2 separate regions of the Homo sapiens genome follow, and region 1 is linked to region 2. Evidence: promoter capture Hi-C in 16 types of primary human blood cells and fetal thymus (Javierre and others, 2016). All regions are on one chromosome and are shown on one strand. The core of a region is centred on a gene start or on the middle of the fragment in contact, and the rest is flanking DNA. Distances in the headings are between cores, read along the strand shown.

Region 1 (6,896 bases), core at 1,436-3,935, 1.3 Mb before region 2:
CCTATAGGCACCCTGCCTATATCATACTCTCCTTCCCTCAGCATGCCGAGACATCTCAGAATTGTCTTCCATGGACATGCCCAGCTCGCTTCCACCCCAGGGCTTCTGCCCTTTCCTGGGACATTCTTCCCCCAGATCTTCTAAGGTGGCTTCTTCCTGTCAGTCAGGTCTGCCCAGGTGCCACCTTCTCTCATAGGATTTCCCTGAGCATCTAAAGTAACCTCTCCTTCAGCCCCTCTGTCACCTTGCCTGCCCATGTCATACTCTGCTCTGCATTCTTTACAGTACTTATCCCTCTCTGCATTGACCTTGTTTGTTTTCTGTTGACCTCGGGTAAACACCATGAACGCTGCCTCTCTTCACAGTATCTCCCTCATCTACAGCTGTGCCTGGCATATTCCGGAGGCTCAACATCTACTGAATGAATGAAATACATGGTGACTCAAGTTCTATAACATAAAATTACAAATACTATATAAAATATAGAAATAGGGCTTGCAGTCTTTCTTTTGAAGCACTATAAGAAGAACAATCTAGAGTTTGGATTCAGAACCAAATGGTCACCTTTGGTACAGATGGCATGAAGGAGAAAACTCACACAAAAGGGGTCCAGCAATGGTAAGGGAGGCAGATCTTTCCAGCAGAGGATCCTTGTCTTCCCTTGATCCCTTGTAGGTCATACGTACATGTTCCATTCACAAAGCTGAAGGACTAGAAGTTAAAACAAGTCTTGAAAAGAATGATTTTTGCCCTATAACCAGCAATTCTAGAGTGAATCTATAACTAAGCCCATATAAAATATGGGATGGATAATGTCAAATCATTTACAATGTATTATTAAAAATACATGGGCCAGGTGCAGTGGCTCACGTCTGTAATCCCAACATTTTGGGAGGCCAAGGCGGGTGGAGGTCAGGAGATTGAGACCATCCTGGCCAACATAGTGAAACCCCGTCTCTACTACAAAAAATACAAAAAGTAGCCGGGGCGTGGTGGTGGGCGCCTGTAATCCCAGCTACTGGGGAGGCTGAGGCAGGAGAATCGCTTGAACCCGAGAGGTGGAGGTTGCAGTGAGCCGAAATCGTGCCACTGCACTCCAGCCTGGTGACAGAGGGAGACTCCATCTAAATATATATATATATATACACACATATATGTATACATATATATACATGTATATACACATATACATATATACATATATACTTATATATACATATATACATATATACTTATATATACATATATACATATATATATACACACACACACACTATGTGCTTAAAAGTAAGTTATGTTTTCTTTTTGTCAACTTTTATTTTTAAGTTCCGGGGTACATGTGCAGGATGTCAAGGTTTGTTACATAGGTAAATGTGTGCCATGGTGGTTTGCCGCACAGATCAACCCATCACCCAGGTATTAAGCCCAGCACCCATTAGCTGTTCTTCTTGATGCTCTCCCTGCACCTCACAGGCCCCAGAGTGTGTTGTTCCCCTTCATATGTCCATGTGTTCTGCTCGTTCAGCTCTCACTTATAAGTGGGAACATGCAGTGCTTGGTTTTCTGTTCCTGCGTTAGTGTGCTGAGGATGACAGCTTCCAGCTCCATTCCAGAGTCTACGAAGAACTTAAACAAATATACAAGAAAAAAAAATTTTAAAGTGAGCAAAGGGCATGAACATTTTCTTATGTATGTACACATTATTGGGTCAGGCAACGTGGTAGGTGCATTGTGTACAGGATGTCATTTATTTCTGCAAGGTAGTTGATATACCCTGTTCCAGAAGAGGAAACCAAGTCTGAGAGAGGTTAAATAACTAGTCTACAGCCTAGGCAAAAGAGAGATGATCTTTGAACTCCAATTCGTGCAGTGGTCAAGGGGTATCCTCTTTGATTGCAACATGTTTAGAATGTTTTAAGGTTATTATTTTTCTGAATGCCTTCAAATGTGACAAGTATGCTCTACTGATCCCCATTGTGTCAGACCCAGCCTGATCTAACATTTATATTACCAGCCTGGTCCCAGTCAAAGGAGCTGGAGTTTTCAGATTCTGGTGCTAACCTGAATTCTACCTACCACTTCTTTACAAAGAGGCCTCTGCCGTGTTTGTACCAGCGGCAGGATGACTTGAAGCTCTCCATGGACATGCGGTGGGGGTGGAGGTGTTGATGGATATTGTCTTGGCTTTTGCCTTATGTGGGATTTTTAAGAAATGTGCAGGAAAAAAAAAACAGGAAAGTGTATTAGGAGAAGGCAGGATAGAAGTTTTCCTCACGTGGAGAGAGCAGGAGAATGGAGGAAGTGACTGCTGGAAGCAAAACTCTAAGAAAAAACCAATTTTACTTGGAGCTTAAAAAAGATTTTGCTGTGTAATGTGCATTGTAACTCTTCTCCCATCTCCCCAAGGCATCTTTGGTAAAGATGTCATTGTTGGGCTTTTTGTTTTCCATGGCACAATGCACTGAAAGGGCCTCAAGGGGAAAGCAAGTCATCTCTGGAAAGCTTAGCCAGAATTTGCAACAGAAAGAGTGGGAATTTTGGAATCAGGTCCTAGGCTTGCAAAAGAGCTCTTTTTCACAGCCTTAGCTTCCTCCTTTGTAAAATGGAAAAAAAAATAGTTTCTTTTTTGCAAAGTTGTTGTGAGAATTAAATAACACTCATGAGGGGCATTGTATGGAGCTTGGCACATTCTAGGCCCTCTTTTTATATTGAACTAATATGATCTTCTCTGTAATTCCCATGAATTAATTCCAGTTCTATTTTGCAAAACATTGATTCTTTAACCTTTTTCATGTAATGGTGCTCCAGTTTGTCTAGATCCTTCAAGAAGAGAAAATGCATATCAACATCTTTGTATCTAGTTGCTCTCAAGCTTAAAATGATGTCATTTTTCAATTATTGCTTTTATTATACAGTAAAAACATATTTAGAAGAGACTCAAGATAAATATTAAAAGTTAAGCTAGTTACTGAACAAATTTCTTAAATATTTACGAAAAATAAGATCAACACACATTTGACCATGGCAGCTTTTCTAAAGGCAAAGGATCTAATTTGGTGATTAACTAACCATATTGAGCACTCATTAGGTGTCAGGGATGTACCAGTTCTTCTACTGTATTTGGGTGTTTTTAATTATGAATAACCAAATACAAAAATCAAAGTAGTTTAAACAATGAGGAGCATTTATTATCACTCTTAAAAATAAATTCCCAAGGTGGGCAATTGCACGGATGGCTCAATGGCTTTACAATGTGAAAGATCCAGCCACTTGCTATCAATTCTTTTCTCTACATTGCCTTGGTTCTTTGCAAGATAACCTTGAAATTCCAGGCTCACATATAGAAATAACAACATATGGCTGAGGAAGGCATTTTCTCTCCTGTGATTCTTCTTATTAGGGAAGAAAACCTCTCTACCCCCTCAAGACTTCTCAATTTCCTTTATCCAGAATTGGGCTACCTCACTATGTCCCCAGGCAGTGCTTCTCAATTTTTTCACACCATGACACAAATACAAAGATAACGTTTTTGTGACACAGAGGGGTACCTGGGTAATGTTGCTTGTGGCCAGTCATACCATCCCAGGGCTTCAGCAGCTCAGCCTCACTTGAATGTCCCAAGGGCTTAAGGGATCCATACCTTATCACATCTATGACCCATCTGAGACATACCAGGGTATGCTGGCACATAGATTGGTATGCTCTGCTCTAAGCTACAAGGGAGGGTGAGAGAGCATGCATCCATATACATGCTCTAGTGAGAGAAGGATCTGCCAACGAGGAGGCTCTGCCAAGTAGTAGGAAGTGGTGGGGCAACCAACCGCATCAGTCATCTTTTCAAGGGTGCCTTCATCTATTCTAATTTTCACAACACATTTTAGGAGGAAGTATTCTGTGGAGGATAAAACCAAGGCTTATAATTTAAATGACTTGCCTGAGGTCACAGAACCAGTGAGTGGTTCAATTGACACAGCAGATGCAGATCCAGGTGTGTGCTGGGAAATGTTTAACAACCACCTTTCCAAATGTAGTTCCAACATGGCTATTGGTTAATATTTTCATTTAAGATAAAAATAAAACAACAAAAATGTATGTTAGAGCTTATTAGTCAATGATGTGACTTCATTGCTAAATTGAATGTTTTTATGCTATTCACCATGTAACAGTTATAGACACGACATGTCTTTTACATTTAATCTGCATAAAACATTTTCTCTGTCACTTAAGCCTAGACCAAGCTTGTCCAACCCTGGGCCTGTGGGCCGCATACAGCCCAGGATGGCTTTGAATGCAGCCCAACACAAATTCGTAAACTTTCTTAAAATGTGAGATTTTGTGTGTGTGTGTGATTTTGTTTCGTTTTGTTTTGTATTAGCTCATCAGCTATCATTAGTGTTAGCGTATTTTATGTGTGGCCCAAGACTATTTTTCTTCTGCCAATGTGGCCGAGGGAAGCAAAAGATTGGACAACCCTGGTCTAGCCCACAACCAGCAAAGCAATAAGTGAAGCCCTCATCTGTGGTGTCCGCTGATCAAGCTACCAAAGAAAACTCACTAAATGTGGTATTGGGAAGAGATGTACAATTACATATAGGGAATTTCCACCATGCAGACACAATGCATGTAAATTGCCTAAAGAACAAAGACAATATTAAAATGTATTAACATAATTTGGAAGTGATGTTTTTATCACATACTACCTTTGTTTAAAATTTATTTCATTGGAAGTTTATCTAACTTAATTTTTATTTCTATTTTTATATTTATTTATTGATTGATTTTTGAGATGGAGTCTCACCTTGTCACCCAGGCTGGAGTGCAATGGCGCAATCTCAGCTCACTGCAACCTCTGCCTCCTGGGTTCAAGCAATTCTCCTGCCTCAGCCTCCCAAGTAGCTAGGATTACAGGCTCCCGACACCACACCTGGCTAATTTTTGTATTTTTAGTAGAGACGGGGTTTCACCATGTTGGCCAGGCTGATCTCAAACTCCTGATCTCAGGTGATCCACCCACCTCAGCCTCCCAAAGTGCTGGGAATATAGGCATGAGACACTGCACCCAGCCTATATCATTTAATTTTTAATAATGAGTATTTAACAAACAGCAGGCAAAATTTCTGAAAATTTAATAATCTGCTGTCATGAGCCAGTATAGGCCAGCTCTCCACACCACGGACTGGAACTAAGTTCAGCACTCTTTCCACTCCTGCTGCCTTTACTACCAGCATGTAAAAGCAATGATGCTCAGTATCGTACGGGGGACAAACCTGGGTACCCGTCATTAATTTCTGTGACCCTGGGTAGTTACTACCAGATGCTTAGTTTTCTCTTCTATAAAGGAGGAGATTAAGAGTCCTTGCCCTGTCTACCTGCAAGGGTTTTTGAGAGGATTAAACTGGTTAGTCTGTATGATAGTGCTTTGTAAACTGCAGAGTCAGGTTCAGATAAAAGGCTTTATGATGATGACAATTTCATTACTGTTTTCAACCAGGCCACCATTGTTAAGGATGCAGTGTGTCGCTGCTTTCAAAAGTATGGTTTAGTTTGAGATCTTCTGTAATGCCCAGGATAGACAGTAAACACCCAGAAGAATTGTTCTGAAGAAGCCCACTCAAATCTGTGCTAGTCTTTACTTAGCACAAATAGGTACCTATATTGGGATGAAAACTATTTATTTGAAGCTTATAATTCACTCTTTTCTAGCTGCTGCTGGATTGTCTGACGGGTCTTTCCTGGAGTTATGGAATACTTCTCAATTTCAATAGTTGAATAAAGGTGTTTTTTTTTCTGTCATGCAGGCTAGGGTGCAGGGGCATGATCTCGGCCCACTGCAACCTCCACCTCCTGAGTTCCAGTGATTCTCCTGCCTGCGATTCTCCTGCCTCAGCTTCCCAAGTAGCTGGGATTACAGGCGTGTGCCACCAGGTGTGGCTAATTTTGTATTTTCAGTAGAGACGGGGTTTCCCCATGTTGGCCAGGCTGGTCTTGAACTCCTGGCCTCAAGTGATCCACTCGCTTTGGCCTTCCAAAGTGCTGGGATTACAGGTGTGAGCCACTGCACCCAGACTATTTTTAATTTCAATTTTTAAAAAAGTTGCTTTGCTTTTTGCACCAGACCAACTCACCAAGTTATTTTCTATGGATTATACCCGTGCACATAATGTAGTTTCCTGATTATAAATTAAATATCCCTAATGTCCACGTTGAAACACTCTCGAAACTTAAATGACCATAAACTATTTGCCTTGAGTTTGCTGAACTTGTCTTTGGGCTGTAAGAAACTCTTTTCTGCCAAGCTCTTTTCCACATCAGGCCCTTTGCCCATGCTGACCCCTCTACCTGGAAAGTTCTCCCCTGATTATGAAGCTGACTCCTTCTCATCCTTTAGATCAAATGCTGCCTTCTTAGAGAGGTCTGCACTGAACACCTGTTTCAAGTCGTCTCCCGGATCTGTTTCCTTATTTATTTTCTTCACAGCATGGATAACAGTATGCAATTTCCTTTCTATCTGCTGACTTATTTGTCTATGCCTCTTATTATTATGTTGGCTCTTTGTGGGCAGGGCTTGCCCATTGATGTCATTATCTACCTCCAGTGTCCCACACAGTGCTTGGTGCACAATAGCTATCTCATGAACAGATGAACTTATCTGACAAGATCCACTCTAGTATTGTAAGGCTGTGGCCATATATGGCTATCTTGAGGTGAAAGCCTACCCTAAAGACTGTCCAGGACTTGGCCTCTGGTGCTCACAGTTGCCCAGGTTTCTCTCAGGTCGCAGGATGAGCCACAGTGGTAGCATAAGACTGCTGGCTGCTCCCCTCTGCCCCTCCCTAATGGGGCTGCCCAGTGATGTCACACAGGACAGGATTCTCTAATCCTTTTGATTCTGTAAC
Region 2 (7,011 bases), core at 3,976-6,475:
CTTACCCTTTTTCTGAGGATGACCATGTGTTAATTGCTACAGACCAGAACTGTCTTCCTGAAAGTTGTCCAGGGCTGTGGGAAAAAAGTTGAATATTTCAGTGCAAGTTCTATTGACACTAAAGCTAACACTGAATCACTCACTTATCCCAGCCTATGCTATTTTTTTTTTTTTTTTTTTGACAGGGTCTTACCCTGTCACCCAGGGTGGTTGGAGTGGCATGATCTTGGCTCACTGCAACCTCTGCCTCCTGGGTTCAAGAGATTCTCCCACCTTAGCCTCCTGAGTAGCTGGGACTACAGGCACATGCCACCACATCTGGCTAATTTTTGTATTTTGGTAGAGACAGGGTTTTGCCATGTTGGCCAGGCTGGTCTTGAACTCCTAACCTCAAGTGATCCACCACCTCAACCTCCCAAAGTGCTGGATTACAGGCAGGAGCCACTGCGCCTGGCCTAGCCTATACTGTTTTCTTTATATTATATACTTATATGTCCTGTCTTTTCTATCAGATTGTAAGCTTCCTGAGGACAAAGATGATGCCTTACATGTCTATATGGCACCCAGAGTATTTTGCTCTCAAATACATACTGCTCAGATAAGCTTTCAGGATATAGAACTTCAGATACCCACAAAACCATCTCTTCTAGTGTTGTCTGGAAATAAGTCTTGTGTTTATTCACTTTTACGTATAACTGTATCTCATCTTTCCAGGAAGATTGGAAACATATTCATGTTTAAGGCATCACAGTAGCTGACTCATCATTAGCTGTCAACAAATAAATACTTCACAATTAGATTTCTGGGAACAGTCTTCACCAAGAGACAGAAAGTTAACTGGAACTAAAATTTTAATCCCCTCAAACTCCAAGGAGACCTGTTTTCCAGGCATGATCCAACAGAACCGCTGCTTTTTAGAGTACCTTGGAGAGGCTATTTCTGAGGACAGCAAGCTAACAGGATCACCCCCCACCACCCTTTGCTTCAATTTGCCCTAGTACTCAGACTTAATTGGTGGGGACATGGGCATGTGTATAAAGCACGTGGAGATTATTTGTTATAATTCATCAGGGCTACCATTTGAAATTGGCCAGCACAATCATCCCTACTTGACCATAGTAATCAAGATGTGGCTGAGAAAGAAGGAGTGTTTGTTTCAACAAGCCAGAGAGCTGGTCTTCTGCTTTCTAAATGGACAATTTATAAAATTTAGATAGAGAGGCATCTTCCACTCTAGGCATGTACAACCCACCCCGCCATCCCAGTACATTCTTCTCTTTCCTTACATTTACCCATCCCTCCTGCCCCTCCTGCTTTCTTGAAGGTGAGTGAGCAGGTCCCAGGCTTACAGCTCAGTTGGACTGCGGTTGCCCTGTCTTCTCTGGTGATTTCTCTGTCTTATGGTCAGGAGCCAGACTCTGAGTCTGTTCAACTATGTAGAGGAAAGGTCACTAGAGAAATTCCACTTCAGCATTCCTCTAGGGATCAGAGATTCTGACTGCTCAACAAAATTACCTGGAGGAGAATTTTAATAATATGGCTTCCTGGAACTTACCCTGAAACATTCTGATTCAGTCAGTCTGGGGTGAAGATCAATTGGCTATATTTTTCTAAATCTTTATAGATGATTCTGATGCACTGGCAAGTTTGGACATTGGATAAATTCTAAGCTCTTTGAGATCAGGAAACAGATGAATCTCCCATTCTGTATCCCACAATGACTAACTCAGCACCTGGCACACAGCAACACTTTAGAAATTGTTATTGAGTCAATGAACAAATGGATGGTTGAAAATAGGGTGATGGATTGGGAGTACAGTCAACCTAGCATCTTTTAAAATAATTTTTAAATTGACAAATAATAATTGTACACACTCATGGGGGTACACAGTGATGTTTTGATATGTATTGTGTACAATAAATCAGGGTAATTGGCATATCCATTATCTCAAACATTTATCATTTCTTTGTGTTGGAAAATTCAATATCCTTGTTCTAGCTATTTGAAATTATATATTGTTAACTATAATCATCCCACAGTGGTATAGAACAGTACAGCTTATTCTTCCTATCTAGCTATAATTGTGTTTACTTTAACAAATCTCTCCCTATTCATCCCTCCCAGCCTCCAGTGTCCTCTGTTCTACTGTTTACTTCTATGAGATCAACTGTTTTTTTTAGCTTTCACATAGAAGAACATACAGTGTTTAACTTTGCCTTCCTGGTTATTTCCTTCAACATAATGTCTCTCCATTCTACCCACGTTGCTGCACATGATAAGATTTTAGTCTTTTTTATGGCTGAGTTGTATTCCATCGTTAAATACACACACACACACACACACACACACACACACACACACACCATATTTTCTTTATCCATTCTTTTTTTTTTCTGGACACCTGGTCAACCTAGCATTTTACCTAAAGGCTAGGCAAGGGCCAATGGAGGCAGAAGGCCAAACCAGTCACAGTGGGGCCAGGGATAGGAATAAGGCAGCAGCGTGGGGGTGGAAATAGAAGAAAACTTAGGTAATTTGATCCCCAAGTGGGAGAACATGACCCCTGTCCTTGAAAATGCTGCTACTTTCAGCGGTGCTGCCGCTTGCTGCCCCTGTGCTGGGACTGACAGGCCTTGCGCTCTCCAGTCCCACTAAGAAAGCAAATTGGATTGGTCACTTCCCTGTTTAAACCTTCCAAGGCCCTGCATTGTTCTCAGGATGAAGTCAATTCTCCTTTCTCTGGCTGAGTCCTGGCTCCTCCTCAGCCCATCACTGCTACTTGCCCTCATCTCTCTGTGCCCACCGGCCACCCTGCCTTCCTGCAGATCCTACCGCCTGCGGTGTTCTTTCACCAGCCTGTCCTCTCTGCCTGCAATGCTCATTCCCTGCCCCCATGTTCCCTAGCAAACTCTCCTGCGACCGTTAAATTACAGCCTAAAAACATCCGCTTCTCTTTTCCCCTGGGGGCTGCCAGTTCCCTGGGGTAGAGTTCAGTCTGTTGTGTCCAAAGCCTAGCCAGTAGATGCTCCCATGTTTGTTGAATGAACAGAAGTTGGGACGGGAAACCAACAGACGCTCAGGACTGGGGTTTGTTTTTGTTCCTGTAAAACTGGATTGGTTCTGCAGAGGCACAAACAAGCCCGTTGATTTAGATCTATCGAGGAATTGGGGTAGGGGCAGGGGTGGCAGTTTTGCTAAGAAGAAAAGCAGGTGAAAGTGGGAGATTCCAAAAGAGACCAGAGAGAAGGCAGTGTGTCCTGCCCAATCTGCCGCTAGGGTCAGAGACCAGCTCCCTAGTCACACTCGGCCAAGGCAGGCTGCCGGGCTGACTCCAACTCTAAACAAAGCCAGGCAGCCGCCCAGGTGGGTGAAGGCTGCAGATTGCGCTCAGGCGTGACGCCGGGGTGCAGGTGGGAGCGACGCCCGGGTGCGTGGGTGCAGCGCTCGCCCGCCCGCGGTTAGGCGCACCGCGGGAACCGGTCAGGTGCGCCGTGTGGGGCGGGGCGGAGGCAGGGCGTGCGCCCCCAGGCTGGTGCCTGGGGCAGAGGATTCGCCTGCTTGACGCGCTGATGCCTTGATTTGGTCTGACAAGTGGAGGCTGCTTTGAGAAGCGGCCTGTATTTTTGACATTCAGGAAGCTAGAAATAACCAGCTGGGCTCCTGGCGCTCTGGCCGCAAATGTCTTGCGCTTTCCAGGCAACTGCCAGATTGAAGGGGCTTTTCCCCAATGTAGACCTGTGCTCTGTGTGCTAGGAGGCCGAGGTTCCAGTCCAGGCTCGGCTTCTGACTCCCTACTTTAGGAGGAATCACTGAATTGACTGCAGCTCGGCTTCTGCTCTGTAAAATGGGGCTGTTGCTAGCTGAGCCTCTTCTGCCTCTGGTAGAAAATGATTCCAAGTGGCTGCCCTGTCCACCCTAATCCCATGGCCCGAACTTGATGTCTGCTGCTTCTAGAAGCCTAGTGCTCCAAATATCTGCTCTGGGAGGGACTTGCAGATGATCCTGATTGGAAATGAGGCTGATTAACCTTTTGTGTATCATTGACTCTAGGACAATCTGTTGAAACCTAGGGGCTCTTACCCTAGACAAATTAACACACCAGCCAGATACAGCTTACAAGGGCAGAGAGTTGCTGGTTTGAACCACAGACCCCTGGTTTAACATCTGTAATCTAGTCAACCCCTCCTCTTTCTTGAAGGCTGAACCAAACACGAAGGGTTTTCCCCACCTTCCAATCCTCATACATGCAGACACCCCCTTTTCCTGCTTTCTCCTTCAGTCATCTTCCTCACCATCCCCCATGCTTGGGCACTCTCAGGAGGGAAATTGTCCTATAAATATCTGTAAAAGGCATGGTATGTCCTGTAGCAGAGAAAGCAAAAAATAAAAATATAATTCCTCCACCCCTGGCATGGCACGTGCAGAGCTCTGCCTGATCCTTCTCTCCCACAAGCCTCGGGGGTGGGTAAACAAAAGTGAGAGGTGAAGCTGCTGCAGCGAAGTACCCCTTCAAAATCTTCAGTACCCTTCAGAGCCAGCGCTGTCATCACTATCACATAAACTGTACAACTCCAACGTCAACCAGCAGCCGCCTGGCTGGCAGCAGGAAGAGCCAATGCAATTTTGCACAGTGGCTTGCTTGCCCAAGGTATTGCCTGGCAAATGGGCTTCTTGTGCAATGGGGAACCACAGGGAGGGGCCTCTTAAATGTACCTCAAAGAAACAGCTCTAACAATGGATGATTCAACAGGCTAGTAATTGGCGCTCACTCTTACCACATTGTTTTGATAAAACGACATAGCCCAACTGGGGATATGAAGGCAGTAAGTAGAAAAGCTAACCTCTTGCTACTCAAATTGTGGCTGAGAACCAGCGACATCCCATCACCAGAAGCTTTATAGAAAAGCCAGGCTCTGTCCCAGACCTATTGAAAGGAGATCTGCATTTTAACATGATTGCGAGAGGATCCACATCTTAAAGTTTCAGAGGCCTAATCCAAAGTCTTCTGATAATGATCATTAGAGTCCCAGCCACCCCCGACTTCCCCCTGGGAAAACCACAACAAATAGAACAAATTCCTCCAAGCTCTGCTCATAAGAAGAACCCACAACCCACAGACACCCCCTCACTCAACTAGAGACCTCACCCACCTGTTTGCAGAGTCACCCACCTTGGGCTACTTCTTTTCTACTATTTAATCTTCTGGGAAAACAGAGGTCTTCTATTTGGAGATAAAAATGACAAAGGAGAACCTCCTGAACAGCATCCAGTTTGCTTTTAGCTTTAGCCATCTCTCTGACCTCAGTGCTGCTGGACTCAGTTCCAAGATCTAACTGTCAAATGCTTTAGGGGAAACGGGAAGAGAAGTCCCTGGAGTAACCCATGTGCGCAGCCTGGCACTGTTTTCACTTGCCTTTGGAAATGAAGGTGCAGAAACCATGGGAGGTAAGGAGGGCACAGACTAGTGACTTCCAGTGTGGGACAGAGGGGAAAAGATGGAAGAGAAGTGCAGAAAACCACTCGGGAAAAGACAGGCTGGAGTGATGCCTGCTGAGACAGGGCCCTGATCTCCCAGGACTTCCCTTTCTGCCTGTTCTGTAGAAATGTCTCGGGTTTTGTGGTTTAGGAAAAGAGATGCTTAGCAAGCTTGTAGAAAATGTAATGTGGGCACTTTGTTGCTGTCCTGGCTTTTAAAGGACTCTGAAGCAGATCAGCTTCAAGGTATTGGCTATTCTGTTTGCAGCCTTAGAAAGACATCCTTGATGTTTTATTGTTCTGCCTTTGCTAAGAGCTGGAAACTCTCCCTGGGGAAATGGCTCACCTTGAAAGAGATGCTATCGTAGCTGAAAATGTTTTAGCTTCACTTCCAATCTCTGGTTCCTTGTGGGAAGTAACTGCTGCTGTGGTATATATGCCCTGTGCCTTTTATTTTTACCATCTTTACCTCGGTGGACACAGCTGGTTGAAACTCAGTAAAACTTATGCTTCCATGGAGATTGATTCAGACAACAGGAAAAATAAGTGTAGAAAAAAACTGCACAGTACAAGGGCTAGATTCAGGTTGTAGAACAAAGTGATTATTACTTAGAATCCTGGATTAGCAAGAGAATAAGAAAGATGCTGAGATTACCTAGTGTTATCACCATCCACGTGAAACGTAGAATAAAACTTTTTCCCCACCACATAGATATTGGGCAGTTTATTATAGATGCTACAAAGGGATTTATTATATTTTTCCCAAAATGGTTAATTAGAGGCATCCCAAATTACAACTCCTTTAGCATAACTCCCAGCTCCATGCAGCCTACTTACTAAGGACCCAGCTACTGACAGCTCAGCTCTTTGCCAATCCAACTTTTTTTCCCCATATGCTCAAACTTTTCTTCTCCAAGAAGACTTCCTGAATGATCCCAATTCATAGGGATCTCATCCTTAATGCAGGGGAAATTCACTGTTCTGGAGTAGTCTACCATACCATCACGCTCTTCTTTTTGTGTAATCCTGGATTTCTTCTCCAGTTGTTTTATTCTTGCCTGTCTACACAGATAGATCAGTAGCCTTCAATAGTCTGCATCTCCTGTTATCTTGCAGCCTCCTACTATAAACAGTAGGTGCTTTACTTATGCCAGTTGGGTTGACCTAGACAGTAGTCTCTAAGTAGCAGTCCTTGGCTCATCCTTCTGAAACCAACGAGCTCTTAGGCAGGCTGAGAAAGGGTTAGGACTGTTCACTCTGGGACATCCTTGGCTCTGTATGAGTGTTGTTTTTAAAAGCAGGGATTTTGTCTCCAGTGCATTGAAGAGATAAAACCCCATTGTCAGCATATTTCTTCAGGATCTTTCTGTGTTAGATCTCACTGCCAAGCCAGAGTCCCCACACACAGACTCTCACTTTTCCCCCATCAATAGGCTGAAGTGAGGCAAGTAGTAGAATGTGCTCAAATCATGGCCTATTCTTAATAAAAGAAACAAGGACAGCTTGGGGCTGGCTCGTCTCTTCTCAAATTCTCC

Evidence for each region. The method cuts DNA at HindIII sites, captures the fragments that hold promoters and counts their contacts. A CHiCAGO score of 5 or more calls a contact.
Region 1: a contact is called between a fragment that was not itself captured here and the fragment with the promoter of LINC03033 in region 2, in 1 of 17 cell types (neutrophils). The highest score is 5.4, in neutrophils.

What each region holds. Positions count from the first base shown.
Region 1 is chr14:60,238,829-60,245,724 of GRCh38, forward strand. LOC101927702 (a long non-coding RNA gene) reads right to left here and starts at 6,808. Exons shown (of 3, transcript NR_188027.1): 1 at 6,717-6,808; 2 at 3,935-4,042; 3 at 1,298-1,626. The HindIII fragment of the contact is 370 bases long and covers 2,501-2,870 here.
Region 2 is chr14:61,565,315-61,572,325 of GRCh38, forward strand. LINC03033 (long intergenic non-protein coding RNA 3033) reads left to right here and starts at 5,226. Exons shown (of 3, transcript NR_039985.1): 1 at 5,226-5,446. It overlaps LINC01303 (long intergenic non-protein coding RNA 1303), which reads right to left and starts at 5,339. Exons shown (of 5, transcript NR_110416.1): 1 at 5,172-5,339; 2 at 4,230-4,363; 3 at 6-74. RefSeq lists enhancers at 2,931-3,432, 3,433-3,932 and silencers at 3,274-3,343, 3,424-3,583, 4,324-4,516. The HindIII fragment of the contact is 753 bases long and covers 4,893-5,645 here.